2 separate regions of the Homo sapiens genome follow, and region 2 is linked to region 1. The links are contacts of gene promoters, found by promoter capture Hi-C in human tissues and cell types (Jung and others, 2019). All regions are on one chromosome and are shown on one strand. The core of a region is centred on a gene start or on the middle of the fragment in contact, and the rest is flanking DNA. Distances in the headings are between cores, read along the strand shown.

Region 1 (2,760 bases), core at 67-2,566:
TTGCTCTGTCGCCCAGGCTGGAGTGCAGTGGTGCGATCTTGGCTCACTGCAACCTCCGCCTCCCGGGTTCAAGCGATTCTCCTGCCTCAGCCTCCCGAGTAACTGGGATTAGCGCCACCAGGCCCGGCTAATTTTTGTATTTTTGTAGAGACGGGGTTTCACCATGTTGGCCAGGCTGGTCTCAAACTCCTGACCTCGTGATCCACCCGCCTCGGCTTCCCAAAGTGCTGGGATTACAGGCGTGAGCCACCGTGCCCGGCCAGGTTTCATCATCCTTGAATTTCCTAATTCCTCACCATGTTTGTCGCTTTAGTCATTCCTATTAAGAATTCCCTTCTGGGTACAGGTGCTAGCTAAACTTTCCCTCAGCTTCTCCCCGAACCCTTTGGAAGGAGCAGGAAGGAGGTGAACATCCAACGATCTAAGCATTTGACTCTCCTGCCCTTGTGCAGGCTCTCACCTGACAGCAACCCAATACTCAGGTATAGGTGGGTCAAGGAAGTAGCAAAAGAGGCGAGCAGCATCCCCAGCGCAGCCAAGATGCCTCCAGTCATCACCACGGGCCTGGGCCCGAACTTCGTGCTCAGGGCACTGCCTACCGGGCCTGAGGAAGTGGAAGGGGCGCTGCGAGAAGATCTCAGGGGTCTCCCCCCCAGCATCTCCCGCCCCTCGCCCTTCCACTTCCCAGTCGCCGCATTCCCTCTCCCTTCCGAGGGTCGCAGTCCGCCAGATCCAGGCGCCGCACTCACTCCCAAACTGCTGCACCGCGATTCCTATGGAGGCGATCCAGGAGACGCGCGCTGCCTGCTCCTCAAACGCCGCCACAAACTCCACGAAGAAGACCCCAAAGGAGCGGAGCACCCCAAACACAAGCGCCGACTGGAAGAACGCTGAGAGCACCACCACCCATCCCCAGCCCCCGTCGGGGGGCTCTGTCCTGCGCGCCATCTAAGCGGTAACAGGGCTGCTGCCACCCAGAGCCTCTGCAGGAGCCGGGTTCTGGACGCCGCACCTCTGCACACCCACCCCCGCTGCCGGGTGGCTCGGGGCCGAGAGGGGTTGGAGAGGCAGGTAGAGAGGAAGGGCCCGACGAGGCGGCGAGAGGCCCCTGCACCTTTTCCCAAGGCGGGGCGATATAGGACTGAAGACCTGGCCCGCGCTGGCCGGGCCAGAGTCTCCCGGGGGCGTGGTTCCGCGAGCTCGGAGCTGAGCTAGTTCAAGCCGGGGCCGGATCGGTCCCGGTTCGGTGTTCGGCTGGGAGCCAGAGGGTGGAACTGAGTTTGGGCCCCACCCCTGGAGCGCGCCAGTTTCCGTGTAGATGATCTATTTTATCACTGGGGTGTCCGGGCCGGGCCACCCTGGAGCTCGCCAATGAGGACGCGGGGCTCCCGGGCAGGGGCGGAACGAGAAGGGCAGGGCGGGATTTAGGCATTGTTGGGGACCAGCAGTGAATGGGCGCATGCGTAAGGAGGGGCGTTAGGAGGCTGACTAGGTAGGGCCCCACGTGACGCGGGGACTGCCAGGAAGCTTCCGTCTCCTCTTCACCTAGCGGGCCAAGTCATCCCCGTTTCAGCACCCAGAGCCACACGGAAGGGTTAGTGGTGGGTAAACTGGGTCTGGAGAGGAGAGGACTCTCTTGCTTTAATGAGGGGTCCAGGAATTGCAAGGCCCTGTTGGGGGTAGGGGAGGGGTTAGGAGATGAGACTCAAACGAAGTGTTTGGCGCAGCGCCTGAAGCCACTAACACGCAGCCCTAGGCACGCAGACCTAGAAGCCTGGATCCCTGAGAAGTTCAACGGCTAAGGGAAGAGAGAAGGGGAATGAGTTGGACTCCTGGCGTTCATTTCTGTAGTGGGAACTCGTTCCTGTCACTTCTGTTCCCACTAACAGGAAACCTACAGGTCACAGAGACCAAAAATAACTGAGGAGAGGAAGGGCGGCTGTAAGCTCACACAGGGCCCCACCAACACCACCTACCTCTTCCTCACTGGGGCTGGAACCTTTTCCTCTGCCCTCTAGTAACAACCACTTCCTAACCACCTTTTTTGATCTGATGGTGGGGTAGACTAAAGAGACAAACTATGACCCTGGCCACTGGAGCAGTCAGCCCCCTCTTACCCAAGTAGTCCTCAGGCCCCTAGCAAACACTCCCCAGTCCTTCCCAGTCTCCATAACACCAATGGCTTGGATTTCCTGTTCCTTCATTATAAGCCATACTTCCCAGGACCCTGACCTTGAAACCGTGGACTCAATGTTCACTCCCAGATTACTGGGGAAAGCAGCAAACAAGAAGTGGAGGCAGGGAGGGAGGTGTGTAGTCTTAAAAGACATATTGAGCCTTAAATAATTTTATATGTGGGAAATAAAAGTAATCATCAATAATACACATATATACTTTCTAAGAGTCAAAATGTCGGCTGGTGGGGAATATGCCAAAGATACAGAAATTGCTGTGGCTGTATTACATAGTGATTAAGAACTCGGGTCTTTAGAATCAGATCACAGTTCCAGTCTTTTATTTATTTATTTATTTATTTATTTATTTATTTATTTATTTATTTTGAGATGGAGTCTTGCTCTGTGGCCCAGGCTGGAGTGCAGTGGCATGATCTTGGCTCACTGCAACCTCCACCTCCCGGGTTCAAGTGATTCTCCTGCCTCAGTCTCCTGAGTTTCTGGGATTACAGGCTCCCACCACAACGCCCAGTTAATTTTGGTATTTTTAGTAGAGACGAGGTCTCACCATGTTGGCCACGCTGGT
Region 2 (2,760 bases), core at 108-2,607, 1.1 Mb before region 1:
CAGCCCTCTTCCTAGCTTCATTCTTTTTTGGGAGGGAAGTGAGGGTATGTACTTTATGAAATTAAAGGATAACACATAATGAAATGAATGAAGTACCCTAGACGCCCCTCAGATCAAGATAAGAACACCTCCAGCAGCCTATATGGCCTCCCTCTGCCAGGGATACTCACCAGTAGAGGTTGTCTGAGAATTGCTCAGTTTTGCTGGTTCTGGAAGTTCCTATCAATGGATAACAGAACGTATCCCCTTTAATGTCTGGCTCTTTTTGCTCAGTATCATCTTTGTGAGACTCATCCGCATTGCAGTTCATTCTTTTTATTCCTGGGTAGAATTCTATTTTATGATTATACCACAAAATATTGATCATATTAATCCATTATTTAACTTAATTCTTTTGTCTTTTTTTTTTGGAGACGGAGTCTTGCTCTGTTGCCCAGGCTGGAGTGCGGTGGCACGATCTCAACTCACTGCAACTTCCGCCTCCTGAGTTCAAGCGATTCTCCTGCCTCAGCCTCCCAAGTAGCTGGGACTACAGGCGCATGCCACCACGCCTGGCTAATTTTTGTATTTTTAGTAGAGACAAGGTTTCACCATGTTGGCCAGGCTGGTCTCGAACTCTTGAGCTCAGGTGACCCACCTGCCTTGGCTTTCTAAAGTGCTGGGATTACAGGCGTGAGCCACCACGCCCAGCTATTTAACTTAATTCTTATGCCCCAGATTTCACTCTGTCTTCTAATTTAGTTTTTTTTTTTTTTTTTTTGGGCTTCTGATTTTATATCCAACTCCAATCCCTCACCAGTGGATCCTGGCCCCACAGGAAGCAACAGATCCCCTTCTCCTACCCTGATCGTTCCTCCCCGCAGCATCTTCAGGCCTTTGGGCACCCATGTGGTCCCCGAGCCCTAGCTTCAACACCTCCCACCCTTCCAGTCACAGACTCTGGGCCCTGGGGCAGAAGGACAGGCCAGCTTTCTCACTGTGGCCACTACCTGTCCCATTTCCCAGAGAGGAATGGCCTGGAGGCTGGCCAGCTGCGCTGCCACTTAGTGCCCCTCCCCCTCCCCTCCCCCGCCCACCAGTGGCCTCAGAACCAATGCAAGTCACTCACTGCCCATGGCCCTGCTTAGTAGGGGTGCCTGGCACTGTAGCCAATGGGGACTGGCAGGAGGAAGGAGCTTATTAGTCTGATAAAGATCTGGGGACCACACCCTGCCCCCTCCCGCAACTTCCCTAGGGCCCTGGCTCAGGCTGGACTGGCTCCCCCACCCTGAAGGCGCCTTCATCCACGGCATCTTCTATCCGCCCTTTCAGAGGCAGGCCCAGTGCCCTGCCTGCTCTTCCTCCCCACCAGCTCCCAGAAGGCTTGGAGCCCAGACACCTGCTCACTCACCACCAGCTGGGCTCCGCCTGGGCCTGCCCGGCACCCACCCCGGCCACCAAGGGCAGCAGCTTTTCCAGAATTTGGCTGGCAGGCCTAGTCACCCCACCTCGCCACCTCACCACTGCACCTCGGAGGCCAGCCCTGTCCACTCCACTCTGTGCCTGGCTTCTCTTGCCTGCCTTGGGCCTTCGTGTGGCCCCTCCACGGTGTCTGGGACTGAGTGCCCCTCTTGCCTCCTGAAGAGCAGCCATGGCCACCTACAAAGTCAGGGTGGCCACAGGCACCGACCTCTTGTCGGGAACACGGGACTCCATCTCACTGACCATTGTGGGGACACAAGGAGAGAGCCATAAGCAGCTGCTGAACCACTTTGGGAGAGACTTTGCAACTGGGGCGGTAAGAGTGTGTGTGTGTGTGTGTGTGTGTGTGTGTCTGTGTGTGTGTGTGTGTGTGTCTGTGTGTGTCTGTGTGTGTCTGTGTGTCTTTGTGGCCCCGGGAGGGGTGAAGGTGCGCAGGGGGAGCCAGGTGAGCTGAGCTTGGCGAGGAGAGGCTGGAGAGCTGAGGCACAGCTCCGAAGGCAGTGGGCTCCCCAGTGGCTCTACACGCCTTGTCCAGAGCTGGCTTCCAGCCCCTCGCCCATGTCCCAGATCTCTGGGCCATCCTTCTCCATCCTGCTCCTTCATCTCTAACCCTTTCAGGCATTCCTCATCTCCCTCCCCATCCTTTTCTTCTCTCTCCCTCTTCCTCAGCCCTCTCTCCCTGTCTCTGCCTATCCTGCATCTCTCTTTTCTCAATCCTTTCCACCTGCTTTCCTTCCCCTTTGCTCTCCTCCCCTTTCTGTCTTACCCCCTCTCCCGCATCCCTCTCTCTTCCATTCTCAGTCACTCTTCCTAATTCAGCTGCCTCCTAACTGTCTCACATTTGCACTGGATTCTCTGTGACTTAAAATGGCATCAGACCAGCCTGTCCAGTGGAAGGCACGCTTTGCGGGTCCTCAGACCTGATTTTCAGTCAGACCCAGCCACCTGCTGCTAGGCGACCTTAATAGGTCACTCTATCTATGTGGCCATTCTGAATATCTGCATCTTCATTGATGAATGGGAGAAGGGGCTGGCTGGGCCTCTCCCCACTCGAAAACTGTAGAGTGGTACCCAAGTCCCCAGGGGTCTGAAGGGTTCCTGCAACCTCAGGTGCCTGGAGAGGGGAGTGGGAGAAGACAGGAGCTGGGGATGGAGAGAAGGAGGGGCTGGAGTCCTACATAGCCCTGGGTAGAGGAATCCAGTAGGAGACCCCCAAGCTGGAGAAGTCAGAAGGAAGCTCAATGATCAGGTCAATATCCTGTCCCTCCGTCAGTCCAGGGAGGTGAGCATTGCGCAGCA

Evidence for each region. Contacts are between HindIII fragments. The study calls those that stand out against the background at their distance.
Region 2: a contact is called between the fragment with the promoter of ALOX12B here and the fragment with the promoter of SLC16A13 in region 1, in 1 of the 25 tissues and cell types used here (heart right ventricle).

What each region holds. Positions count from the first base shown.
Region 1 is chr17:7,034,571-7,037,330 of GRCh38, reverse strand. SLC16A13 (solute carrier family 16 member 13) reads right to left here and starts at 1,316. Exons shown (of 4, transcript NM_201566.3): 1 at 750-1,316; 2 at 461-604. The coding sequence starts at 948. RefSeq lists enhancers at 749-988, 1,719-1,768, 1,377-1,877. The HindIII fragment of the contact is 7,914 bases long and covers 1-2,760 here.
Region 2 is chr17:8,086,313-8,089,072 of GRCh38, reverse strand. It overlaps ALOX12B (arachidonate 12-lipoxygenase, 12R type), which reads left to right and starts at 1,357. Exons shown (of 15, transcript NM_001139.3): 1 at 1,357-1,777. The coding sequence starts at 1,631. It overlaps MIR4314 (microRNA 4314), which reads right to left and starts at 1,017; the gene lies at 926-1,017. RefSeq lists an enhancer at 1,581-2,329. The HindIII fragment of the contact is 32,393 bases long and covers 1-2,760 here.